Linked DNA regions of Homo sapiens: regions 1, 2, 3, 4 and 5 are each linked to region 6. Evidence: promoter capture Hi-C in 16 types of primary human blood cells and fetal thymus (Javierre and others, 2016). All regions are on one chromosome and are shown on one strand. The core of a region is centred on a gene start or on the middle of the fragment in contact, and the rest is flanking DNA. Distances in the headings are between cores, read along the strand shown.

Region 1 (4,658 bases), core at 1,513-4,012, 2.5 Mb before region 6:
AAATACTCTAAATACCTCATAATTCTGTTTCTGCTGTTTCTGAAGTGCCAAGGATTCTTCTATGGAGAGCAGCTGCGTGGGCATATGGTGAAGTGGTAGAAGCCGAGCTGCTGTGATGTCATCAAGATGCTGCTTATCCCTGCGCCGCCGCTCTTCTGAGGAAATAGGAGACCCACTCTTCTGGCAATGACTAGATGAATCATTTTGTCGAAAAGGTAACCTGATGAAAGGAAAACTTGTGTTATACAATCAGATTATTTTATTTGTAGACACATTTAAAACATTCACACAAATGGCCTTTACCTTAGCAATTAATTCTCCTCCAAAGGTAACAGTAAGTAATTTACCAGTATTCATTGCTCTAACAAATAGGGGTGTGTTTGTGTGCATACAGGCTCTTTGCCTTTTCCTTCCTTATTCAAACCTTGTATTTCATCTGGAGTTTTTTTTTTTTTTTTCATTTATTCAAAGAACATTTGCAAAAGGGCTTATTGCCCAGTAGAAAGAAATACACATGTAAAGTTTCAGTGCAATACAATACCAGAGATACTGTGATAGATATCTCAACAAGATACATTGGAACATAAGGAAATGGCCAGTTCTAGTGGGAGACAGGGAGGCTAAGAAAAGTTTCAAAAAAGCTTTGAACAGTCTTGGAATAATAACTGCTTACCCATGTAAATAAGGAGAGAAGTGCATCCCAGCAAGGGGAGTGAGAGAAAGTACAGAAGGTAGACAGACTCAGCTTTTCTGGCTACACAGAAAAGACAGCGAGAAAGAGGGCTGGGAAGTAGCCTAGGCCCAGACTGCAATGAAGAGTTCTCCGTAACAAGTTCGGATTTCCATCTTACAAATTTCACTCTGGCAGCAGTGGAGATAGACTGGTAGTTAAGACTAGAGGTAGAAGGGGCCACAATTACAGCCCGAGAGAGATGAGAGTCTTCACTTCGACAGAAGATGAAGAACAATTATAGAGATGAAGATCAAAGAAATAAGTAGGTCTTCATGGCTAGCAGATATGGAGATGAGAAAAATCGAAGATACCTTAGGGGAAGAAAACCGAGAAGGTGGTGGCACTATTAGGGAATATGGAAATCACCTTGGAAAGAAACTGCAGTTCCACTTTGTACATCATTAAGCTGAGGTACCTGGGAACACCCAAGTGATCAAGTTTCATGGTTAATTGGCTATGCAAACCTAAAGTTCTGGGAAGATCTGGGATAGAGGTGCACAGGGGTCAGCCTCCAGCATCCAGGTGATACATGAAGCCAGAAGAGTATGCAGAAGGAAGAGCAGAAAGGACCCAAAGGACACTACCTGACCCCACCTTCCAACCTCCAAGCCACCTCTCACACGGAACCCTCTCAATCCCTACCTGTCTATGGCCTAAGGACTCCTCAAAGCCCTGCCTTTCCTGTTCTCCTCTAACTTATACAGGAGGCTCCCTGTCTCTTAAACTTCCTGAATTCTTGGTAGCCCTCTTCACTATTCCCTTACCTCTCTCCCACTCCCAGCTAAATGACCATAATACAGAACTGGGATTAATGTATTCTTTGTTTTATTTATTGACTAGATGATGGTTCTAGTTTTCTAAAATGTCATCCTGGAAGTGAAGAAAGATACCCCACTGTACACAAGAGAGTACTTGATCACGTTAATGTAGTATAATCCTGATTTTCTATACAGCAGAAATAAAATGTTTTGAGGTTAAAATGAATGCTGGGGTAGAATTAAAGTCTAACAAAAAAGAAGCATGTTTTAGATACTTTTCACTAGAGGTTTTCTGTTTTTCAAAGAAAGGTAGTAGTGATTTAACTTTGATGTTACATACTTGTAAATACAATATAGGAAGAAGGTACCAGTTACCTGAGTTGAATGTTACATTTGCTGCAAGTAAATAGCAATTATTTTCAAAAAGATTTTACTTTTCCTGAAATTTCAGAAACAAATTTATGGCAAGGAACTGATAAGCAGAGTTTTTGCCTATCCTGCCTGAATCTATTTTCACAGTTTTTCAAACCTCTTCTCAGCTTCCTTCCCCCTGAAACTGTTATTATTATGTAGCTTAACTCTTTTCCAAGTGTGTAAACCTTGGGTCCTCATGTAGCTCTTAAACTCCTTGAAGAACATGGTATTGTATTACATTACACATGTATACATTACAGCCATGTTTTTAAACTTGAGATTTAACATCAAAAAAGGCAAAGGAGTTTTAAGAATCTTGACTTAATTGTGTCCCCACAACACCTGCTGCTTGCTTACATACAGTGAGCATGCAAATAATTTCTGCTGGAAAGCCCATCAGCTCCTGCAATTGCTTTACCCTTAGTTCACAGACTAATCAAAGAGAGTACACTTTGATAGTACACTAATCAAAGCTGTACACTAAAAAATGGTTCTGAAAAAAAGAAGTCATAATAAATTCTCTCCAACTCTGTGTTTATTATGAAATACTGGCTAAGCATCCTAAAATTTAACACTCCCCCATGTGCTTTAAAAGACCTTGTCGATTATTTGGTTTCAAAACTAAATATTTTTCAACATGAATCTTCTACTCCGGCCAGGCTGGTCTCAGTGTTGCCACAACATGTTATTTCCTAACTACAAGTAGTTCTCATACAAAGCCCACGGAACTTAGAGCATTCTCCTGACTTATTTAAGAGAAAAGGTCTTATTATATTGCCCAAGCTGGTCTACAACTCCTGGACTCAAAGCTGTCTTCCCACCTCAGCCTCCTGAGTAGCCTGGGACTACAGGCAAGCACCACCACACCCAGTTTCTCGTAAATTTTTGAGTTTAACAAATATCACGTTCCTGTTACAGGCCTGTTTCCGAGGGTACTTACACATTGGTTTTAAATTTACGCAGCTGGGGCACTGGGTTTTTGGCTCGCATTTCTAGCACTTCCATGTAATGAGGTTTCTTCTCAGTCCCACTGGAAAGGCCTGTCAAGTTCTTAGTACTTGCGTTTTCTTCTGACTGTTGTTCACCTTGGTCCGCAATGGTGATCCTCTGTAACCTGTCAATAAACAGGTTGTCAAAGCTGCTGGAAGTATCTTCCGCTTGACTTGAAACACGATGCCGCGGGTGATGCTCACTAGCTTCAGATGAAGGTGGTACCCTGTCTCTATTGCTGGAAGCTGGGCCCTTATTCACTGTGTACTCAACCTCTGAAGTCTCTTCATCACCTTCAAGAGTAGGACGTCCAAGTCCCTGGTTTTGTGAGGTTTGAGATGACTTGATGTTATCTACAGAGGAACATCCAGGAACTAGTGATGAAGTATCAAGTATCGGGTCAGAATTCTGGGCCTTATCTGTACCCACATCAACTTCTGCAATTGCTTTTTGCCTTAGCTTACAGTCTAAACTAACAGGGTTAAACAGTTCACTTTTTCTTCTAACTTCTTCACATTCTGCAATGGCAGCTTTCAGTTTGGCAAAAGAGTCAAAGATCTTTTTACCTTTGTCGGGCAATTTGCAAATGAATTTTCTGTCAAATGGAAAAGAATACTATTACATTACAGCCATTTTTTTAACTTGAGATATAACATTAAAAAGGCAAGGCATTATCTTCAAAGAAAGAAAAGCTGATTTTTAAGTCAAATATCTGATTTCTAACTGCCCCAAAACAAGAATAAAACAATTAAAATGGTCATTATCCAAATAGCCCAAAAAACAAGGGAATGCAGGAAGAATAGGGAATATATGCCTCATTTGTCTCAGCAAATTAGAATTTCAGCAAAAGTATTTTAAGCATATAATAATCACATAAGACATTCCAAGAACCAGCAGTCATTAAAGTGCAATCTCCAAAATTTGGGGATGGGGTGGAGTGTGGGGATGGGCCTATTAGGTCAAAACTACTTTCATAATAATACTAAGATATTATTTCCCTCTCATTTTCTCGCATGGGTACAGTGGAGTTTTCCAGAGGCTACATGGCATGTGATGACATCATTGTTCTAGAATAGAATGTGTGCTTGTGTATGCTTATGTTTTAAAGACTTCAGACGTATTTCTGATAAGTAAATACATTTCGCTAGATACAACACATAAAATAGCTCTTTGGGATGTCAATAATTCTTAAAGTATAACGGAGTCCTGAGACCAAAAAGTTAATTCACTGCTATACATTCAAAACCTATTCTCACAAGGTCAAAACACATGTCTTGATCCCAACCAATTATTTATTTGTCCCTTTTGCTGGATGACAGAGTTCCTTTTCTGATTCCCTTTTCTTTAACTATACAATAAATGGAAAGAAAAAATTACACCTTAAGTCCTCTGTTCTTTTTGACACTACATTCATCCCCACAATTTCAACTATTAACAACACTCTACAGCTGAAATTCCTGTTTTCTGTATTTTTCCAGGGTTCTCTCTTTCTTGAGCCTCATGACTACTTCTCCAGCTTTTAAGTGTTTGGTTTTCGATTAACCAAATGTCTGTCCTGCTCTCCTCTCAACTCTGCACACCCTAAGTAAAATCAACCTTGGATCTATTCCTCTCCCTGAATTTTCCTATTTTTGCTAGTGGTCTTCCATATAGATTGGAAACTTCAGCCATCTCTGTCAACTGCATTTAAATTAGTCCATGCTTAAAAGTTCTCCCAATCCCTTCCTAGCTCACTTTCTTACAAGTGTCTCGTGGGAAGTCTC
Region 2 (4,263 bases), core at 1,133-3,632, 2.5 Mb after region 6:
ACCAGAAGGAATTGGAGAAAACCATACTTAATTTAGTGATTTAAATTAGTTTTAGGTGTTGGCTATTACATACAATCAGGCAGCAGCTATGTATGTATCAAGTATTAGTAAGTGTATTGCTCCTGAGCAGGTTCCTTGTGTAGAATGCCAAGTTTAGATTTTTAGATTACATCAATCACTTTGGAAAAATGGCACCAAGGTTAGTAATTGATTCTCAGAATAAACAAGCAAATAAAATCAAAGTCACTATTTATTTTGAATTGTTGTGAAAAGTTGCTTTACAGTCATAAGCAGTTTTAAAAATAGTATTTGCAGCCAAAACTAGTGTTAAACACAATAAAATGTTTAGTTACGTACTGATATAGATTTTTAGGGGAAACAAATTTATTCATCAAGATTTCCAAAGAAGTTTTCACCTTAAAAATTGTAGCTTTCTTTAGCATTCTCAGGTAAAGATGATGGGATTGTGAGTTTAGTATTGTGATTATATTCCATAATAATAACATAAACCTTTAGACCCATGGCTTTTTTTTTCTTTTACTAAAACCAGTGTAAGTAATCTTTTACTTAGCAAACTAGTACAGAAATATTGAAATAAGCTTTTCACAAACGTACTTACCCTTACTGTGCGCAATGTAATGTTGTATTTTCTATTCTATTTCACGTTTTGAAAAATTGCTGTCACCACCCATTGAATTGATTTCTTCACCAATTAATGGGTCATGATGACCTGCAATTTGAAAGGCAGAGTTATGGACAACTCTTAACGAGAAAACAGTTACACTTCATTTTTTTTTTTAAACTACATTGGTGTCCAAAGAACTATCCTATATAAATGAATTTTCTGGATAATTGAAACTTTTTAAACGTCAAAATATTTTTAGTTGTAATCATGATATGTGGAGACATTTAAAAAATGTTCACGCTTCTGGTTTGAGATTTTTTTGTCTCTAGTTTAAACCATCTCAGCCTATCTTTTTTTATTCTGATTTTTATGTTCCCTGGCTGTCAACAGTTTTTGTTGTTAATATATTTATCCTTGTCACCTTTTAATTTTCCTGCTTTTAGTCTCTGAGCTAGATAATTAGATAACCGTACTTAACACTAAGTTTTCTCTCTTTTTTTTTCTTTTTCTTTTTTTTTTTTGAGACGGAGTCTCGCTCTGTCGCCCAGGCTGGAGTGCAGTGGCGCAATCTCCGCTCACTGCAAGCTCCGCCTCCCGGGTTCACGCCATTCTCCTGCCTCAGCCTTCGGTAGCTGGGATTACAGGCGCCCGCCTCCACGCCCGGCTAATTTTTTGTATTTTTAGTAGAGACAGGGTTTCACCGTGTAAGCCAGGATAGTCTCGATCTCCTGAGCTCGTGATCCGCCCGCCTCGGCCTCCCAGTGTGCTGGGATTACAGGCGTGAGCCACCGCGCCCGGCCTAACACTAAGTTTTCTATAAGATGAACATAAATAGGAGAACTTCTCAGATGCTCATTCAGAGTGTGAGTAAAGTGTGGATTTTAATGTAGAGACTCAGATTATAGTTTTGTGAAAGACAGCTGTGCTTCAAAGAGTTAAAGTTTCTAAATAAATACAATAGCCTCTTATCGTACATGATTGGGTGTGGTAGTTGGTTGGCTAACTGTAAAAGTTTAAGGTGGGGGTCAGGAAAAATGCCTTAATTCTTTTTCTATTGGCTGTTTTTATGGAAGGTGTGGGGAGCATTGGTCAATTCTGCTCCCTACAGCCTCCATAAAAACAAACTGATAGCCAATAGAAAAAAATTATCTGAAGGTCAGGAGTTTCTACTGTACTTTGAAATAAGATGTTATGGTATAGCATGATAGATTTCACAATAGTCGATAGTATTTTACTGTACGATAGTATTTTACTGTACTGTAAAAAAAATTAATTTTAAGCAATAATATAACATTACTTGGGTAACACTGCCAAAGATGAGTCTTAGATGTTGTCATTAGCAGACCTGTGTTTTTATACTTGTTCCATTACTTGCTTGCTCTCTAATCTTCATCACATAATCTCTGAGAGTCTCAGTTTCCTTGTCTGTAAAATGGGAATAATTCCAACTTCTCACAGTTAGAATGAAATATGACCGTGCTTGGCACATAGCAGATATTAAATAAATAATATCGTTTATTATGTTAAATAAACATTACAAATGCTTATATATTGGTTATATAAGCTTATATATAAGCATTACAAATGCTTATATACTGGTTATATAAGCTTATATATAAGCATTACAAATGCTTATATATTGGTCAATTACAAGATATACTCAACAAAGGTAAATAAATAATGAAATGTTTAATAACCTAATGCTATTTTGTTCTGTTTTGCATTGATAGTGTTCAAACTGCTAAGGCTCGAGCAGATTAATAATTTTTTAATATATAGTTATCTGAGAAAATATAAAAGCTACAGAAGGATACTTGCAGTATATGTATAATGTATTTATATTGTCATTTGCTATTACAATTATGGCTTCTATATGTAGAGGATGACATGGGTGGACTAAGCTTTCTGGAATAATTAGATTTTTAAGTGATGTTAACAGCTGACTAGAGCTGGGCAGCTGGAAAATTTAATGTTATTCCACCTTTGACTCAAGGATGTACAAGTTTGGACCTGGTTCTAGACCTGTGTGTATATTGAATACCTGGTGTTTCAAGAGAAGTCTAAGGTGTGGTCCACGGCCTGTTGCGGTGGCTCATGCCTGTGATCCCAGCACTTTGGGAGCCCGAGGAGGGTTGATTGCTTAGAGCTTAGAAGTTCGAGACCACCCTGGGCAACATAACAAGACCCTATCTCTATTTAAAAATAAATAAAATGTGGTCTTAGTGTAGAGGTAATTAAAAACATATTAGGTTATGTTCTAAATGTATTTCTAATTTTGTATTTTTAATATCTGAGCTTAATCAAAACTGCTATGAAAGATTAAGACCTATAAAATAAATCATAAATTAGTAATTTAAATCTACTGTTTTAATTCATATTTAAAAACATTGTAGGCTGTTGATCTTTAAGTTAAAACTAGTAGTGCAAAATCTGTTCCACAAACAAAACACCACACTATTTTGTGGTTTTTGTTTTTGAGGTTAAAATAGAGAAGTGCTTAGTTTTTTCCTCCATTTGGCTATATTACAAATTTAGACATTAGCCTTAGAATTTCAGTGGCTTATGAACTTAACTATAGCATAATGCAACCCTGTTAACCTCAAACAATTCACTCCTGGGCAGGTGAAATAGGAAAGAAGTGTTAAGGACTAGAAAAATGTAGCAAAGCAATTAGGTGCATTGCTTGCTAAGAATAGTTCATTGTTAGTTGATGTAAATCAAACAAAAGAAATGGCAGATGTTGGAGAAGAAATACTGACTAGATTAAATAAAGCGGCCTTTTGCTAAATTCCCAGGTAGAGGTGGTCATGATAGTATGAGTAGCAACAGCTAATACTTGTTCATACTATGTGCCAGGCACTGTCTTAAGTACTTCACATATATAACTCATTTAATCCTCACAGATACTCAAGGAAATAGATGCTATTGTCATCTCTGTTTTATGGATAAACGAAACTGAGTCATAGAGAAGTTTGGTAACTTACCCAAGGTTACACAGCTAATAAAAGGGCAAGCTCAAATGTGAAGTGAACTTGAGCATATGCTCTTAAGCTCCCTGACTGGTAGCAGTAAGTAATGTTAAAATACCATAAGATTTTGGGACCAAAGTGGTTTAAAAATACTTGAGGAAAACTCCAAACAGGTATTTGGTAAGTATTGTGATCTTGGAAAGCTGCTTGTCCTCTCTGCCTCAGCTTTATCTTTACAATAGGGAAAGTAATAGTACCTCAGCTCATGGTTATTTTGAGGATTAAATAAGTTAATGTGTGTAATATGCTTAAAACAGTGGCTGGCACTTAGCATTCAAATGTAAACTGCTATTATTTTTGGACATTTTCTAAAGAAGAAACCAGTCAGTTAGTGAAAGCTGAGGAAGACAAAAGGGGGCTAATTCAGCTGCATGTTTTGTATATTCAGTGTGATCACAAGTTAAAAGCTGGCTACTGTTGTTCTTTCATCCATTTATGTTGATGAGTCTTGGCATCAGTAGCTGTCAAATAATCAATGGCTTGATACAACTTCTGAGATTCAGATACTAAAGGGGTTGACGTAGAGATACCCCATCTATGTTTTTGCCTGTCATCCAGTAAGAAGGAAATGATTCAGTGGACTAAACCCTGTCATTTCTTTGAAGAATG
Region 3 (4,631 bases), core at 1,929-4,428, 2.6 Mb after region 6:
TCGCTTGAGGCCAGGAGTTTGAGACCGGCCTGGGCAACATAGCAAAACCCCGTCTCTAAAATAATAAATCTACACCTGTAGTCCCACCTACTCCAGAGGCTGAGGGGAGGATCACTTGACCTCCAGGAGGTCAAAACCACAGGGACCTTTGATGGCACCACAGTGAGCTTTGATGGCGCCACTGGGTGACTGAGGGAGACCCTGTCTCAAAAAAAAAAAAAAAAAAGATGGTAATTTTAATTGCACTGTGAGCAGCTTATGCTCAGGGACCCTGGTTTATATATCTGTTCTCTCACAGCACTCAACATTGTGCTTGACATTATTTACAAAATGGTTGAATGGATTTTCCTCAGAACTTTTCTGTTAAAACCTTTGCCAAAGTACTATTTCAAAACAAATGACAATGCTAGTACCACAGAGAAGAATAGACCATGGTAAGATGAAAACCTTAGCTTAGACCCACTTAAGAACTCTTGAACGAAACTACAGTGATGTGTGTATATATTTTTTCGTTTGTGTTGTGGCCTTAATTTTTTTTTTAAGATCTCAATAGCAAGTTTTCTAGAGGTTATAAGACTCACCAAACTAATATGTCTTGGAAAGGATACCCACAGGAAAGCTGTCAATGAAATTATTTGTCAGGTAAGAGATACAGGTTGGTGCCTTTATGAGTGGTAGAAGAGGAAAAGAACCTTTATCTGCATTATTTTAATATATCAACCATAAAGAGATATAAATTGTTTTCCCATGCTTCCAGTATTTTAAAAATAGGAGTTCATATTGGTATTTTCAGGAGCTCTTTTGACAACTACTTTTGGTTACCTAAAGGCTGAAGAATGTTTTTGTTATGTTTGAGACAGGGTCTTACTCTGTCGCCCAGGCTGGGGTGCAATGGCACAATGATAGCATATTGCCGCCTTGAACTCCTGGGTTCACCTAGCCTCCCACCTCAGCCTCCAAGTAGCTGGGACTGCAGGTGTGAGCAACCGCCTCATCCATGTTTTCTATTTCTATTCAGAGTGAACACAACATGCTCCCTTGGTCTCTGCAACCATCGATTCCTAACAGCCTAGAGGTAAACCTCAGAAAAGTTTTTAAATGTTTCTCTTAGCCGTCTTAGCAGTTTGCGATACAACAGTTTGTTAGGGTTGCTTCTTTTGTTTGTGCAAGACTTGAATACTTAACTTCTAATCCAGAAGCTGTGTTTACTATAACATAAAATATTAAAGATGAGCTGATGGTGAAATCCTCAAGTGTGAAGAAAGTTTCTTAGCTTTATAGCTTTATGGAAACAAGTACATTGTATTTTTTCATTCAGATGAATGAACTTTTATTGAACATTCATTAAATGCTAGGCACTAGGCAAACAAAGACTTAATAGAATGACAACAGTAATTTTCCATAGAGCTTGATACAGTATTGGTACCTTCCTGGCAGTATCCCAAAGGATTTGTTGGCTTTCATTAATCCTTTCTAGTTATTCGTCAATCAGTGCATCAGTCAACATGTTGCTGAGCAGATAGAGGAGAATTTGCTTAGAGTGGTCAGATTTTTATTGCTGACGTTGCTGTATAACCCTCCTCTGCCGAAGGCTGAAAAGTGGTATCAGTCATTGAGACATAATTCTGCTCAGTGTATAATAGACTACAAAATAATCCTTAGTTATTTGAGTGTCCTTTTTACGTGTATATATTTATAACTTATACCCCACCTATTCACAGAAAGGATTTCTGATGTATTTCAGTGGTACAATTCACAAAAATGCACATGCCGAGACAATAACTATTATTAAAAATACTGTTCTTAAGATTTTTGTTTTTGTTTTTTGGATACATACATCGTATACATGTATCTGTGTGTAAACATGTATCTGTGTTACCATATCCTGGGGTTCCTTTCCCAGCTTGTAGCCAATAGCCAAAAGTTCAGAATTCTGCCTTCTGCGGACCCTATTATCAATTTAGAAGCTACTTACCTAAGTAAATCCATTTACATTACAGCATCTATTTTTAAAATGTAGTAAAATTGCTGTGTAACACAAAGGCTTCTTGGAGAATGAAACTTCAAAACCAGATTTGAATCATAAAAAATACTTCTTCACGGTGGCTCACACCTGTAATCCCAGCACTTTGGGAGGCAGAGGCAGATGGATCACGAGGTCAGGAGTTCAAGACCAGCGTGGGCAAGATGGTGAAACCCTGTCTGTACTAAAAATACAAAAATCAGCCAGGTGCGGTGATGGGCACCTGTAATCCCAGCTACTCGGGAGGCTGAGGCAGGAGAATCACTTGAACCCAGCGTGGGGAGGGGTGGAGGTTGCAGTGAGCCGAGATCGTGCCACCACACTCCAGCCTGGGCGACAGAGTGAGACTCTGTCTCAAAAAAAAAAAAAAAAAAAACTTCTTAAGCTTGCCATATCCACCCCCTTTGTTGGCCCTTTCTATTGTATCTTTTTCATTAATTTCTGCTTTTTATTTCTCCATTTTCTTTGGGCTCCTTTCTTTGTCTAACTTCTTAAATTGGATGCATCGCTCATTGAGATTTAGCTTTCTTCTCTGATATAAGCCCTTGAGAGATACTTGCTATACCTGACAAGTTTTGGTATGTGTAGGGTTTTGTTTGTTTGTTTTTAAAGAAACAGGGTCTCACTCTGTCTCCCAGGGTAGGCTTAAGTGACCCTCCCACCTCAGCCTCCCAAGCAGCCAGGACTATAGGCATATAAGCATCTACCACGACACCTATCTAATTTTTAAATTTTTTTTGTAAAGGCCAAGGTCTTACTGTGTTGCCCGGGTAGGTCTAGAACTCCTATTTTTTTTAAATACTCGTGCTTTCTTTTTTAACCAGGAATTATTTAGAAGTATGTTTTTAATTTCTAAATATTAGAGATTTATAATTTTTTTGTTGTTACTGACTTTAATGAATTGCAGTCATAGATGGTGGTCTGGAAGAAAATAGTTAAGATTTGCTTTATGGCCTAGTATTAGTCAGTTTTTCCATTTGTGCTGTGGAAGACTATGCATTCCCTAATTGTTAGATGTAAAATTAAAATCAAGTATCTTAACTACTTTATCTTTTATAGCTATCAATAATTGAGGAAGCTGTGTTGAATTCCATAGTAGTGGACTTGTCAGTTGCTCCCTATAGTTCTGTCAGTTTTTGCTTTGTATATTTTCATGCCATTTTATTAGTGGCACAGTGGCTCACGCCTGCAGTCCCAGCACTTTGGGAGGCCAAGGCAGGAGGATTGCTTGAGGCCAGGAGTTCTAGACCAGCCTGGGCAACATAGGAAGACCATGTATCTTAATAAAAAAAAAAAAAAAAAAAAAAGTAGGTGCACTGCACTAGCTCTGTTTTGGTAAGGATTTTTTGCCTGGTATGTTACCACCACCACCCACCCTCAGTCTTTTTACTTTCAACCTATGTCCTTGTTTTTAGATTTTTTTAAATGTGTACTCCACAAGTGGCTAGGTTTTTTTTTTTTCCTTAATCCAGCCACTGGATTTAAATGGACAGTCTGTTGCTTCAGTATGGTTATTGTGGTTATTAACATATTGGGATTTGTTTCTCCTTATGTTTGGTTTCTTTTTGGTATTTAAAATTTTTTTTATTTTTCTTCCTTTCTTGCTCTCCCCAACACTCCTTTTTATTTCTGCTATTTAATTGGTTCCCCTTGAAATTTTTCATGCATTCTTAACTAAACAAGATGTAAAAATTAAGATTATAAACCCTTTTCTAAATTATACAGGACCATAGAACACTTAAACTAAAAATATGGTACTGTTATAGTATTCTTTTCTTTTTTAACTCCACATGATAAAGATATTAAAATTACAATATTGACTTGTTATCAGTATATGTGTATGTATATACCAATTTTCTTTGTTTAGTAATAGTCATTCCTGTCCTTTATCCCTTACATCCTAACCTATTTAACCCAAAGCTTGATTAGTTTATGATTTAATCTTTCTGTGATTCTTTTTGGAAAAAATAAACAAATAAATAACTATTGGCTTATCTCCCCTTTGTTTTCATTCTAGCTTAAGTAAATGTTTAGGAATTCCCTTGAGGTCCAGAAACGTGGAGTCACATCAAATTGTGTTCTATTTTGCATTTTTGAACATGACTGTGGATAAATCGCTTATTTTACCTGCTTTTATCAGTGTCCTGTTGGGAGACAGGAGCAGAAACCACTTTGCATGTTTTTAAAAAGGAAGGAATATGATTTTTAGGGAATAAGGTTACAAATTATTAGAAGGAATAGAGGAACAAAAGGGAGGAAGATGGTGTTTCCAGAGGTAAGGATTACAGAAAGCCTTTGACCCTGCAAGGATGAGTACTGTTCAGAGTCCACCATCGTCTGCCTCCCTTGTCGTGTAGCTGCTACTAGAGCCCCTGTTTATCTGCCATATGTCCCTCTGTAGGAGCTCACAGGGGCGACTGCTGTCTGCTGTTGGTGGTGGCATCACCAGGAGCAGAATGGATTCTTTCTCTCATGCCTTTTAATCTGGCATAGATGCCGTTGACAGAACCTAATAAGAACTCAGTAACTGTCAGAATATTAATGCATGTCCAAGCACTTGAACTAACTTATCATTAAGGTCCTAGAACTGCCTAGCTCTGTAGAATGT
Region 4 (4,172 bases), core at 1,588-4,087, 2.4 Mb after region 6:
CCTCACCGGAACCTGTTACTTACTGAGAGAGACATGATGTGAGCACGATGCTAATGAGGTGAAGATTGTGGGTCCTTTGGGTCCAGTTTTCACTTCCCGGTGTTGGTGGGCAGTGATGGTTACTCACATTCCATCCAGCCACTTCCCTGGGTACAAGGAGCCCTGAAGAACCAGTGGAAGGGGTTAGCCCAAATCCATCCCTGCTGTTAGAGAAACAAAAGTAACTCCCCAGTAATGGTAGCTCAAGAGCTGTCTATCTATAAACAAAGAGAACAGCAGAGTAGACAGAAGCACAGACATGTAGGTGGGGCAGACAAATGTTGGAAAGTCTTGGTTTGAGTCACTTACAAATCTATCTGTGATGGAAACTAATCAGTTTAATGGCAAGCATATTTTCATAAGAAAACACATTTTACTTTCCTCCGATCTAGTTATTTTCACAGTTGTTCCATAAGCAACAGACTTTTTTAAAGAATTGTTTTTAATTAATAAATATTTTGAACATATACTAAATGCACATCATTATTTTAATTTGAACAGCATGAAAATGTATACAGAAAAAAACAAGTTTTCCTCCCAATCATATTCCCTAAGTCCCCAAGTCCCCCTCCCTTAGAAGAAACCCCTGTTACCAGTTTCTTGTATATTCTTAAGAGATAGTCTATGGCTCTTTAAGAGTGTGTGTGTGTGTGTGTGTGTGTGTGTGTGTGTGTGTGTTCCTCTTTAAAAATAATCAAGGGCCTCTCCCATCTCCCAAAAGATAACTTTCTAGGGAAAGTACTAAATGGCTCTTACTTCTTTTAATTATTTGGCCAGAAAATTGCCTCCCTAGAAGATGCTGCCCAGTGCAATTATCTGAGTAATGAAATTAAAAGAGAAGTAGTACAGGGTGACCACCCCTCTGCGTAGGTTGAAAATGCTCCCAAGTGCTTCAGTGGTGGTCCCCTTATTCTAGCTTATTCTAGCTCTTTTTTTTTTTTTTTAGACAGTCTTGCTCTGTCACCCAGGCTGGAGTGCAGTGGCGCAATCTCAGCTCACTACAACCTCCGCCTCCTGGGTTCAAGTGATTCTCCTGCCTCAGCCTCCCGAGTAGCTGGGATTACAGGTGTGTACCACTGCACCAGGCTACAATTTGTATTTTCAGTAGAGACAGAGTTTCGCCATGTTAGCCAGGCTGGTCTTGAACTCCTGACCTCAGGTGATCTGCCCACCTCAACCTCTTATTCTAGCTCTTTTATGAAAGACAATTCAATGTGTGAAAGATGTTCAAAATGCAAGCTTATAAAACATTATATCTACCATACAGTTTCCTCTTTTAAAGTAATAAATACACTCAGACACAACTACAATATCATTTTGGAGCACTACCCTCAACACAAGGGTGGAGATTTTTTCCAAAAAGTTAATTATTGTACCGCTTATATATACTTTTTTGAATTCTGCTTTTGTCATGACATAGCCTTAGTAAATTTTTTTTAACATTTGTTTGATACTTACCATGTTCAAGCACCTTGTATCTTATTTCTTAATTTATGTTTTAATTTCAATGCTTTTTTAAAAGGTAACTTCTGGCCAGGTGCGGTGGCTCACGCCTGTTATCCCAGCACTTTGGGAGGGCGAGGTGGGAGGATCACGTGAGGTCAGGATTTCAAGACCAGCCTAAGCAACATGGTGAAACCCCGTCTCTACTAAAAATACAAAATTAGCTGGGCATGGTGGCGCTTGCCTGTAGTCCCAGCTATTTGGGAGGCTGAGGCAGGAGAATCACTTGAACCCTGGAGGCGGAGGTTGCAATGAGCCAAGATCAAGCCATTGCACTCCAGCTTGGGCAACAAGAGCGAAACTCTGTCTCAAAAAATAAATAAATAAATAAATAAATAACTTCATTTCTTGTTGCAAATTATTAGTATTATATACATCCTTTGAGCTGGAGCTGCAGGGTAAAACACTAATAAAGAAAAAAAATAAAAGAATCACCCACAGCACCCCACACAGATAACCCTCTGTGTGTGTGTGTGTGTGTGTGTGTGTGTGTGTGTGTGTGTGTATCCTTCCAATCTTTTCCCTATGGGATGGTACATACTACTACTTTGTAACTTTTCAAACTAAAAAATCCCATTATTAAATTTATGGTGGAGTATTTGAAAACACATAAAAGAATAATGGAGACAATAAAAAATCTCTGGTAATTCCATCATCCCTGTCCTTTCCCAAATATATCATGAATAGCATTCATTTATTCAACATATAGATAGAGAGAGAGGATATTTGCAAGAGCCTTCCTTCTCTCTCATTATCCATTTATGATTGGAGTGGACTCAGGCATTCCTTTTTTTTCCAGTGGCTTACAATTCATTACTGTACTTAACTATTTTGGTGCTCAAATTGTCCCAGATTTCACTGACGAGAGCCCTTTCCCTCTGACTCCTGTGTCCCTATGACAATGCTTACATTTTTTTTTAACTTTCTGGCATCATAAGATGTTCCAAGCTCATTTGGTACATATTCTGCCCCAATCCTAGAATGTGCCACTTCTTTGATGAGCCCTGGTTTATCCTGGTGGGGAAACATGTTAGAGTCCAAGACAGCCTAGGCACTAAGTGTGCTCATGGCTTTAGGGTGACTTTTGGTTTTCTACCCTCTCAGACAAAGCCAGGAAACAGATACATATACATTTATTTACACACACATACAAATATGTGTATACACATCATACATACATAATATCCATGTACGCATAAACATGCTTATATACGTGCTCATGTACGTATTTCTAAAATCATTAGTTCATACCAGTACCTCCACCTCCAATTGCAATATATCCTCAGAGGATTTTTCCCTGCCTTCCCCCATTCCCTATTTATATGTCTTTTCCTGCACAGTGGGAACTCTGGTACCCAGTAATCTACCTCTCTCTCTCTCTCTTTCTCTCTCTCTGTCTCTCTCACACACACATTTACTCATTTGCTCAATCCTGTAATACATCTAAAATCATTTCAAAATTGCTTTGCCCATACCCATAAAATAAACAAACCTGCTTAAAAATGTTTTAGTTAAGATTCATTTGCAGTTCTCTCTCCCCACCCCACCTGCCATACCCACGCCCCAGCATCACTTGGGAGCTTGTTAGAAATCCTATGGAATCAGAAACTCTGGCTAGAAACTCTGGCTTGTCACGTTTTAACAAGCCCTGGAAGTGATTCTAATGCATGTTACAGCTTGATAAGCACACGCCAAAATATGCAGCTTGGGTTTGTTATATGCGTATGTGTGTGTGCACTCATGCCACGTCTTATTATATAAAATAACACTTTAAACATCCTCTAAATGTAACAACCCTAAAACAAGCCCAGTACAAACTAATAGGGTTCCTGTCACAGCATGGGTGTGGAGCTGCAGAAATTAAAACAAAAACAACAAAAACCCTCCAGTTCTTTAGTTCATCTCTTGGAGCCAGCCCGGTGGATAATAAGGAGTGGCACAAAAACCTTGTTCTTCCTCTTTCTGGGCATGAGATACACTTACTTGCCCACAGGGATGCCCTTCAGTCCCACAGCTCCCTCCCTTCCATGTTAGGCACTTGGCAGTAAATTCAGACAAGTCAAGATGAAGGAGGCCCTGTCAATTAGCGCTAAAAAGCTCACAGCCATTACTCTGATCTTTTCCTCCATTCTCACCCAACTTCCTCTTTCATCATAATCACAGAACAAAACCCTCTGCCTCCAATGAACTCCGTGAACAAACTTCACACACATCTCGCTTTTTTTTTTTTTTTTTAGATGGAGTCTCGCTCTGTCGCCCAGGCTGGAGTGCAGTGGCACGATCTTGGCTCACTGCAACCTCTGCATCCCGGGTTCAAGCGATTCTCCTGCCTCAGCCTCCCAAGTAGCTGGGACTACAGGTGTGTGCCACAACGCCCAGCTAATTTTTTGTATTTTTAGTAGAGACGGGGTTTCACTGTGTTAGCCAGGATGGTCTCGATCTCCTGACCTCATGATCCACCCGCCTCGGCCTCCCAAAGTGCTGGGATTACAGGCGTGAGCCACCGCACCCGGCCACATCTCGCTTTTTTTTCCTCTGCCAGGTTGTCTATGACAATCAATGCAGCTGGGTTTTACAAGTACAAGTTCACTGTGGGGAGAGAGGAGGGTTACCTGGGCCCAGTCCCACAG
Region 5 (4,653 bases), core at 302-2,801, 2.4 Mb after region 6:
CAAACTTTTGCCTTGGAAACCCAACTACCACCACTACCACAGCCTTGGCCTCTCTAAGGGCTTGGGAGCATTTGCAGTGGAAACACCACGGGTGGGCTGCAGTTCGGTGCCCCAGCAAGCAAACCTACAGTCTGAGTCTGGCCCAGCACAGGCTACACACACTTTATTCCATATCTGAGTCCAGATACCCCGGCTCTGAGAGGCTATTCTCATTGTAACCACCGCTTGCCTGGGGCTGAGGCTCGGCGCTGACCCGGCCATAACTGCCACGGGCTGGACAATGGGCACATCTGTCCTTTCTCTGAGGGATGAAAGCACCTAAGCGGACACGGCTCTGCCTTTTGTTGCGGATTTTTTTTCTTTCTTTTGTAAATGAAAGAAAGCCGCGGCATGTGGCGGCCGGGTGTACGTCTCAAACTGGGGGCCTCCGCACACGTCCCCACCAGGCCCAAAGACCAGGTTCGATTCCAGATTGGAGCGTGACTGTGGGAAGGGCGAAATTACTCCCGAAGCTGAATTGATTTTCAAATCTGGAGGCGTCTCTCGGGGACGCCGGGAAAAGGGCGTCCCTAGGGGCCAAGCGGAGACCCGCGCGCCGGCGTCCACCCTGTCTGCGTCAGTACTTCTGGAAAGCAACCGCCTCCGGGTGCTTTAGCAGGAGGGCCTTGGGAGTAACCGCAGGGACGGCCCGAGCCTCCACGGCCCCACCAGCACCCGGAAGTTAACATGGGTACCCTCCAGGGCACTCCCTCCGCTCTCCCTCGCCCCCCTCCACAGGCCGAGTCATCGGCGAAGCGGACGCACAGCCTTAATTATGAGCTGAGCGGGAGAAGGAGCCAGGCGGCGGGGGACAGTGAGGTATGGCCCGAACTGGGATTCTTGGCACTGATTACTCCTCTCCCCAGGGCATGGATGAGAAAGGGTGGGCAAGTATGTATCTGGGAGGACGAAGGGTGCCGGGTCAACGGCCGCCAAACGGACCCAGCCCTTTAAGCAATCTGCACCCCACCCCACCCCAACCCCCATCCCCCAATAGGCCGTGAATTCAAGGGTGGGAAAGCGCACTCCCAGCAGCCCCCCGGGAAATAAAGCTTAGTGGGCTAGAGCCGAAGGGGTGATGACACAGTCCCCAGCTCCCCGGGCAAGCTGCACCGGGAAGCAGCAACTGGAGAGAGAGGGGCGATGTCTCCAAGCACAGCACTCCAGCCGCTAGAAGCCCGACACGAGCGTCCCCGGGCTGGGAGGACAGAGCCCACTCAAGCAAGGGAGGCGAGCGAGCCAGGCGCGAGTCTCCTGGGATTGCAGCGGCGGCCCCAGGTCGCGCTCTGCGCCAATCTTTCGCACGTGCCCGCAGCTCCCTGGCCATCCAGCGCCGCAGGGAAGGCGCTGGGCCCCCTCCTTCATTTGTACCGGGACGCCAAGGGCCTGGCGCGCCGCGACCTAGGGGGCGGGGGCGGGCCTCGCGCATGCGCGCTGCGCCTGGCGGGCGTGAGGGCGGGCCGCTGCGGCGGCGGCGGCGGCGGCTACCGAACCGCGGCCACAGAGTCTGTAACAGTAACAGAGCCATGGCTCAAGCTGGCCAGCGGGGCGGGCAGGCAGCAGACGCGGCAGGCGCGCGGGCCGCGGCAGGGGAGCCGGAGACCTCAGAATTTTAAGAAAGAGAGGGGCGAGAGGTGGCCGAGGCGGGCGGGCTGGGGCACTGCGCTCTCCCAACGGCGCGGATCCTCTTTGGAAATTAATATTAAAAAAAAAAAAGCCGAGGACGCAGAGGGGAAGGTGGGGGGTAAGAGGGAAGGCGAGACACACACACACACACACACGCACACGCACACACGGACACACACACACGGAGAGAGAGAGAGAGAGAGACAGAGCCCCACAGTGAGAGGAAGGAAGGCAACAGTCGCCAGCAGCCGATGTGAAGACCGGACTCCGTGCGCCCCTCGCCGCCTCTGCCTGGCCACATCGATGTTGTGTCCGCCGCCTGCTCGCCCGGATCACGATGAACGCGCAGCTGACCATGGAAGCGATCGGCGAGCTGCACGGGGTGAGCCATGAGCCGGTGCCCGCCCCTGCCGACCTGCTGGGCGGCAGCCCCCACGCGCGCAGCTCCGTGGCGCACCGCGGCAGCCACCTGCCCCCCGCGCACCCGCGCTCCATGGGCATGGCGTCCCTGCTGGACGGCGGCAGCGGCGGCGGAGATTACCACCACCACCACCGGGCCCCTGAGCACAGCCTGGCCGGCCCCCTGCATCCCACCATGACCATGGCCTGCGAGACTCCCCCAGGTATGAGCATGCCCACCACCTACACCACCTTGACCCCTCTGCAGCCGCTGCCTCCCATCTCCACAGTCTCGGACAAGTTCCCCCACCATCACCACCACCACCATCACCACCACCACCCGCACCACCACCAGCGCCTGGCGGGCAACGTGAGCGGTAGCTTCACGCTCATGCGGGATGAGCGCGGGCTGGCCTCCATGAATAACCTCTATACCCCCTACCACAAGGACGTGGCCGGCATGGGCCAGAGCCTCTCGCCCCTCTCCAGCTCCGGTCTGGGCAGCATCCACAACTCCCAGCAAGGGCTCCCCCACTATGCCCACCCGGGGGCCGCCATGCCCACCGACAAGATGCTCACCCCCAACGGCTTCGAAGCCCACCACCCGGCCATGCTCGGCCGCCACGGGGAGCAGCACCTCACGCCCACCTCGGCCGGCATGGTGCCCATCAACGGCCTTCCTCCGCACCATCCCCACGCCCACCTGAACGCCCAGGGCCACGGGCAACTCCTGGGCACAGCCCGGGAGCCCAACCCTTCGGTGACCGGCGCGCAGGTCAGCAATGGAAGTAATTCAGGGCAGATGGAAGAGATCAATACCAAAGAGGTGGCGCAGCGTATCACCACCGAGCTCAAGCGCTACAGCATCCCACAGGCCATCTTCGCGCAGAGGGTGCTCTGCCGCTCCCAGGGGACCCTCTCGGACCTGCTGCGCAACCCCAAACCCTGGAGCAAACTCAAATCCGGCCGGGAGACCTTCCGGAGGATGTGGAAGTGGCTGCAGGAGCCGGAGTTCCAGCGCATGTCCGCGCTCCGCTTAGCAGGTGAGCCGGCCAAGGAGCTGGGCGCGCGGGAGATAAGGTACACGAAAGCCGAAGGGACCAAAGGAGGAAGGGTAGGAGAGAGGGCTGGGTGCGCTTCATCCCGCCCGCCCCTACCCCTAGAAGGGGGACTCCCTGTGCCTGGAAGGGCCAGCACAGGGCTGTGGGAGCAAATTGCCTACTCCAGGGCTCAGGGTGTTGGGCTGTGGAAGGCTCCGAGAGCTAAGCGGCCGGGCCTCGGCGACTGAAGAGGCTCATTTGCGCTCAGGGACAGCGAGGGAAGCTCGTACGGCCTGAGGCGGAGAGAAATCCCCGCACCTGGTGAGACACTCTGCGCCACCTCTCAGTTCAGCGATCCGGGTTTGGGAAGAGGGATGCAACGCGTGCGTGGAATCGCACGCAAATGTTCCTCGCAGGTACCTCTGACACATCCCAGGCGCTGGGCTGGAGCGTGCCGGAGCAGCGTCGATGTTTGGCCGAACTGGCTGCTGTGACCCCCTCCCGCGCTCATTCTTTTGGCGCTGGCTGGGGTGACCTCAATCTAAGAGTATGGGCAAAAAGTTTCAGAGCCATTGGGCGGTGGGTGTGTAGCACAGACGAGTTGTAAGGGTTAGGACGCTCTCTGCGCATGGAATTGGCTGTGGAAAGGAGAGGGAGGCTGACCGTCCCAAGGTCCCAGTGAGAGCTGCAAAGCAATAGCCATGTCCTGGGACCGACTCCGCTGCCGACTCCCTGAGGACTTTGCATTTTGTTTTATTATTCCTCTTCGCGATTTTCGTCTGAATCCCCGTGCGGGAGGGGGGTTTGGGGATGAGAGTGTGTAAATGACCCCCAAGTCTAGGAGCAGAGGTCTCCTGCCCGAAACCCCAAGCCCCAGGTGTTTCTGAGTTCAGCTGGAAGCTCTCCTTGGCGCAGCGCAGACACCGCGCCTGGCTCCCCGAGACCGCGGATAGGCAGAGAAGAAAGCTGAGCCCAGCCCGAACCCCACCGGGGATTTCAGGAGGATTCGGCGACCCTTGAGGGTAGAGAACATGAGGGGAGGTAGAGCTAAGGACAGCGGAGGGTGGCCTGGGTTTGATGAGATCCGGCCGGCGGTTGCCAAGTTGATTGACTCCTGGTCCATGCCCCCTCCCCCCCCACTCCCCCACCCCCCACCTCCACCTCCATCTCAGCCCAGCGCCCAGGCCTGAGCCTTGGCGAAGAGAAAAGGTAAAAGCCGGAATGAGGGTTTGTTAATTAACTGATCGTTCTCCATTAATTCGTCCCTGGAGAACGAGAGACAGTCAATCCGCTCTGAGCCGGGGGCACTGAGCCGTTTCACAGTCTAAAATCAAAGCGTGAGGCCAAAGCCCCCTCCTCCAACTCGTGCCTGCCAATGAGAAGCTGGGGGTGGCAGGTGCCGACCAGCCTGCGATTCGTGCCCCGAAGCGACCCAAAGCGTTCTTTGGGTTTGGGCGCTGCAGGCCACCGGTCCCAAAGCACCGCGCTGGCTGAGACTCTGCCCTGCCAGGTTTTCCAGCCCAGCTCTGCCTTCGTTCGCCCCAGGCAA
Region 6 (4,669 bases), core at 1,587-4,086:
TTAGATTTAGGAATCATAAATCCTAAGAAGGATAAATGGAATCATATTTCCAAGATTTCAGTTCAATCTTGTATTCCATTAAAATAGATGGAAAGAAAAAAACAATTTCTAAGGCTGGCTATACACACACTCATTCTAAAGTGAAGCACTGAATATGTTCATGGACTGAAGGGAACAAAGTCTCAGATGAAGCCTTAAGGTATGAAATTAAGAACACAGATAAATGATGTGGCCTCTGACATCAAAGGTAAGAGGGTAAACCTGGGTGTTCATGTATATGGGAAGGGTATAAAATTTCTTGGTGAAGTAGTAGGAACAAACAGAGTTGGGAAGGAACTGTGTAAAGTTTGCAAAGATTGGTGAGGCTCTTCCATAATTGTTGAGGAGGATAGGAGAGGAAGAGTAAAGAAAAGTAAAATAATTTTCAGTCTCTTGGTTGACAATAAAGTATTGGGCAGATGTTTATTACTAAAATTTCTGGTATGTGCCTTTGTTATTTAACATTACTCTGGAATTACTGGTCGAATGACTAGACAAGAAAAAGTATCCAATAAAAGGAAAAATGTGTGTATTTGAAGATTATAACTATACAAACTGATTCTAGAGTTAAAATGAAAAGATAAATGTTGAAGAATAGCCAGATAAAAAATGAATAAGAAGGACAAGGAAGGAAGGGTGATATGGTTTGGCTGTGTCCCCACCCAAATCTCATCTTGAATTATAGCTCCCATAATTCCTATGTGTTGTGGGAGGGACTTGGTGGGAGATAATTGAATCATGGGGCCAGTTTCCCCTACACTGTTCTCATGATAGTGCATAAGTCTCACGAGATCTGATTATTTTAAAGGGGTTTCGCCTTTCATTTGGTTTTCATTCTCTTTGCCTGCTGCCATCCATGTAAGACCTGACTTGCTCCTCCTCGGCTTCTGCTGTGATTGTGAGGTGTCCCCAGCCATAAAGAGTCCATTAAACCTCTTTCCTGTATAAATTGCCTAGTCTAGGGTATGTCTTTATCAGCAGCATGAAAACTAATAGAAAGGGAGAGGAGGTAAACCCAGTTATTCAAAAAATGACAATAATTTAAATATTTGGGCAGTGGCACATTAACAAATAAAACGATGGAACTGAGTCCAGAAATGGAGCCATAGATGTGACATTATGAGTGAGTGGGGGAAAGGATGCTTTATCAACATACAGCACTGAGGGAAAGACACTGGAGTCTTATGTCATTTATACTTAAATTCCAGACGAGTTGAAAATTCAAATGCAAAAAAATGAAACTACAAAACATAAGAGAAAACATTTTGAAAAACAATTTTGGAGTGAGAAGTGCAGTTTAAAGGAAAGTACCAAATCCAAAATCATAAAAAAATTGGATAAATCTGAATATATAAACAACATATTTCTGCATGGAAAAATACCATGAGCAAAGCTTAAAACATTGATAGGGAAATAATTTCTAAATGCATGTCAGCAAAGGACTAACCTTAACGTGTAAAGTGCTGTTGAAAATCAACGAAAGAATAGAAAACTGCGTAGGACCTGAACAGGCAATTCACAGAAAAAAGCTGAAAAACATTGTGAAAGATTCTTAACATCATTTGTAATTAAATTCAAGTTGAAATAATAATAAGATAAATTTTCATCTCAGGTTGGCAAAGATCACTTTTCACAGCGGGGTAGTGAAACAGACATCTTATTTGTTGATGCTGAGTGTTAATTGGTAAAAACTTTTGGAAGGCAATTTAGTATTATCTGCCAAATTTTAAAACTATTTATCTATATCCAGCTCCTCTGATCCAGCAGTTCTACATAAACCCTCTCCTGAAAAAGCGTACCAACAGATACTTATTATATCAAAAGATAAGAATGCCCATCGATTAGTGACCAATTAAAATACTTTCATACAATGGCATATATATATGAAAAAGAATGTTAAATACCCTTTTACAGTAAAATATGTATCAAATGCCTATTATGTGCCAGGGACTGTTCTAGATACTGGGATGTAGTTGTAAACCAAACGAACTGAAATCCCTGCCCCTCATGGAGCTCACATTCCAATGAAGGGATACAAGGTAACAGCAAGATGCAGAAAAGAGTAAATAGCATATTAACTAGTATTATAAAGAAGAGGACGTAGAGACAGGCAAACACACAAATATACATGTTTGCCTATGCACAGAAAAGCTCTGGCAGGTAATAAATGGAACTGTTTTGCCCCTGGGGAGGAAGACCGCAGGTCTAGGGAGGGAGTCGTAGTTTCCGGCGAAAATATTTGTTTACTACATATGCATATTAATTAAAATGGGGGGGAGGCGGATAACACGATTTTATATTTAAAAAAATTGCTGGTAAAGTCCTTGGAGCATCAGCAACTCAACCGTTTTCATTGCAATGTTCGAAGCAACGCTGGATTGCAGGGTCTTCGCCGCTTACACCCTGCAAATCACTGTGGGACGAGAATCGAGGGCTGGTCTAGGGCAGGCAGTAGACAAATGAGTTAAGAGAGTGCTCTCGAGAGCACTCCGAGGCAAAGCACAAACCAAAGATACATAATACTTGCATAAATGCCGACACACAGAGAGAAAAAACTAGGCGCTGTGAGAGCAAGTTCACAAGGTGGCGCAGAACCACATTTCCCCAAAGTAACAGCGAACAGGTCTAGTCTGCAGCTCTGCGCCTGCGTCAAACGGCAGCGCATTTGACCACACGGCCGCCGGAGGCACAGTCGTGTTCGCATCTGGTCTAACAGACCCGCGAGAACGAAGGACGCTTGCCTTTTTCCGGTCGGGGAAGGGGGAAGAAGGTAACTTCCGGTGACGGGGTTGCATCACTTCCTCTCAAGCTTGGCGTTTGTTTGGTGGGGTTACACGCGGGTTCAACATGCGTATCGAAAAGTGTTATTTCTGTTCGGGGCCCATCTATCCTGGACACGGCATGATGTTCGTCCGCAACGATTGCAAGGTAAGGCGGTCGACACCAGTTCTTGCTTCAGCCTAGCTCCCGCGGTTCCTGGGCGCGGCGGCTCGGTGCTGGGTGCTTCTGCGTCTGCCGTGTTTGGCCCGGGTTCCTCCCGTTGTTCCCCTGGGAGGGTGGCTTAACTGGGCCTCCGTTCTCAACGTTCCGCTTCGGGGGTTTCTCCTTGCCCGTCTTCCGAGCGGCGCTGGCCACCACGCCACCCTTGGGTGGCGTTGGCAGCGAGGAACTTCAGGAGCGATCCCAGCTAGCGCCTACCAGGAATCTTGGATGTCTGTGAGGGCTGTTTGGCCACTCATGTACTTGGGCCAAATTCTTGAATCCAGTAAACTTTGTTGAGTGTATACCCTGTCAGGCATTACACTAAGGTCCATACTAAAGTGTAGAGGTTGATGGAAGTGTTCCGTATTGCTTAATGGTAGAGTTATGTATTAAGTTACTGCAGGTGAGTTGGGGAGGGTCCTGTACGGAAAGACTCAGCATAGAGGTGATATTTATCTTGGATCCTGAATTTTGCGGAAGAAAGCGGAGGGGGCCTTCTAAGTGGAAGGAAAGTGAACATTTTGAGAAAAGGCAGAGAACGGAGCAAATACATTTGTTTGAGGAAGTGACTGGATTGTAAATGATGATAGAGCCTTGGGCGTAGGGCTACAAGTATAATAAGTCTGTAAACGTAAATAATAAATATGAGTCCTAGTTGTGAAAGACGTTTTGAATGGTACATGAATTTGTCCTGTCATTACAGAATGAATCCCGTTCCTCTCTTTCTCAGAGAAACACATTGTTTCTCAGAATTTGATCTCTTACGTTTGCTTCTGAATTACTGGGCGTTTACAGATTCCTGGTTTTCACCAGATCTATTGAGTTGGAATCTTTGGGGGAGGGGAAGAGGGTCTAAGAATCTGTATATTAAGGTGAATTTGACGTGCTAAATAATTACAAGTCTGACTTCTTCACCTTATATCTCTGTAACAGATCAAAGATATTGACCTCATTAATTAGATCCAAGGGATTCAGCTGAAAGTGACGGACCAAAGCCATGTTTGATAACGTAAAAGAACCTAGAAGATTTTGAATACTTGCTCTCAGGAACATGATAAGAAGTTTATAAAAATGAACCAAAAGATTGCCAGGTTGGGGTCTAATTCAGAGTAGGCAGTATGGTTTTATACATGATGTCGTTACGATTTTGTGATTTTCGTCCAGGATGCTTGTCGGCTGGATATTGGAATTAGAACAACAGATCGTGAGAACTGTCAAGACCTGGGTATTGATTTGGTAGACACAGTGGAAGTTAAGTTGATGAAGAATAAGGACAGTGTTGAGTTGGTTGGGAGTCACCAGTGGATCCAGAAGAGAGTTGTTGGAGGAAATAAAAGATAGAGGGCCTGAAGCACTAACAAAGAACAAGTATCTCATCTTTTTTTATGCTTGATTTCCAAACCTAAATCTCCTGAGCTCCAAATCTGAATTTTCCATTGGATGTACCTAACAGTAGGTACAGTGGGCCTACTGAAAGAGAATTCCTTAGTACCTCAGATCTTTTTGCTCTGTGAATTAATACCACTCTTAAGTGCCCGGATAGTTTTGCTAGAAACATGAGAGTCGTCTGAATCTTTTCACCTTTTGTATCTAGTTATCAAGTCTTACCTATCCTGCCTCTGCAAAGATAGTGGTGTCTTTGCCTTCT

The links. The method cuts DNA at HindIII sites, captures the fragments that hold promoters and counts their contacts. A CHiCAGO score of 5 or more calls a contact.
Region 1: a contact is called between a fragment that was not itself captured here and the fragment with the promoter of RSL24D1 in region 6, in 4 of 17 cell types (naive CD4 T cells, non-activated CD4 T cells, naive CD8 T cells and 1 more). The highest score is 12.0, in naive CD4 T cells.
Region 2: a contact is called between a fragment that was not itself captured here and the fragment with the promoter of RSL24D1 in region 6, in 2 of 17 cell types (activated CD4 T cells and total CD8 T cells). The highest score is 5.9, in activated CD4 T cells.
Region 3: a contact is called between a fragment that was not itself captured here and the fragment with the promoter of RSL24D1 in region 6, in 2 of 17 cell types (total CD8 T cells and activated CD4 T cells). The highest score is 6.1, in total CD8 T cells.
Region 4: a fragment that was not itself captured here is called in contact with the fragment with the promoter of RSL24D1 in region 6 in 2 of 17 cell types (total B cells and endothelial precursors); the score reaches 6.9 in total B cells.
Region 5: a contact is called between the fragment with the promoter of ONECUT1 here and the fragment with the promoter of RSL24D1 in region 6, in 12 of 17 cell types (total B cells, M0 macrophages, M2 macrophages and 9 more). The highest score is 25.5, in total B cells.

What each region holds. Positions count from the first base shown.
Region 1 is chr15:57,707,546-57,712,203 of GRCh38, reverse strand. It overlaps GCOM1 (GCOM1, MYZAP-POLR2M combined locus), which reads right to left. Exons shown (of 17, transcript NR_104371.3): 15 at 2,846-3,490; 16 at 16-220. It overlaps POLR2M (RNA polymerase II subunit M), which reads right to left. Exons shown (of 4, transcript NM_015532.5): 2 at 2,846-3,490; 3 at 16-220. Among named protein-coding and RNA genes, the nearest start is that of POLR2M, 3.2 kb to the right of the region's middle. The HindIII fragment of the contact is 4,237 bases long and covers 644-4,658 here.
Region 2 is chr15:52,672,789-52,677,051 of GRCh38, reverse strand. All of the region lies in intron 2 of ATOSA (atos homolog A), which reads left to right. Among named protein-coding and RNA genes, the nearest start is that of ATOSA, 4.5 kb to the left of the region's middle. The HindIII fragment of the contact is 293 bases long and covers 2,236-2,528 here.
Region 3 is chr15:52,560,634-52,565,264 of GRCh38, reverse strand. All of the region lies in intron 1 of ARPP19 (cAMP regulated phosphoprotein 19), which reads left to right. Among named protein-coding and RNA genes, the nearest start is that of ARPP19, 6.1 kb to the left of the region's middle. The HindIII fragment of the contact is 1,535 bases long and covers 2,411-3,945 here.
Region 4 is chr15:52,771,998-52,776,169 of GRCh38, reverse strand. All of the region lies in intron 1 of ONECUT1 (one cut homeobox 1), which reads left to right. Among named protein-coding and RNA genes, the nearest start is that of ONECUT1, 16 kb to the left of the region's middle. The HindIII fragment of the contact is 3,114 bases long and covers 1,281-4,172 here.
Region 5 is chr15:52,787,234-52,791,886 of GRCh38, reverse strand. ONECUT1 (one cut homeobox 1) reads left to right here and starts at 1,551. Exons shown (of 2, transcript NM_004498.4): 1 at 1,551-3,107. The coding sequence starts at 2,003. It overlaps LOC105370824 (a long non-coding RNA gene), which reads right to left and starts at 1,457. Exons shown (of 2, transcript XR_001751550.2): 1 at 1-1,457. RefSeq lists enhancers at 1-495, 496-1,264, 1,261-1,555 and a silencer at 1,444-1,513. The HindIII fragment of the contact is 8,870 bases long and covers 1,094-4,653 here.
Region 6 is chr15:55,195,108-55,199,776 of GRCh38, reverse strand. It overlaps RSL24D1 (ribosomal L24 domain containing 1), which reads left to right and starts at 2,836. Exons shown (of 6, transcript NM_016304.3): 1 at 2,836-2,967. The coding sequence starts at 2,887. RefSeq lists enhancers at 2,872-3,031, 2,825-3,716. The HindIII fragment of the contact is 1,416 bases long and covers 1,435-2,850 here.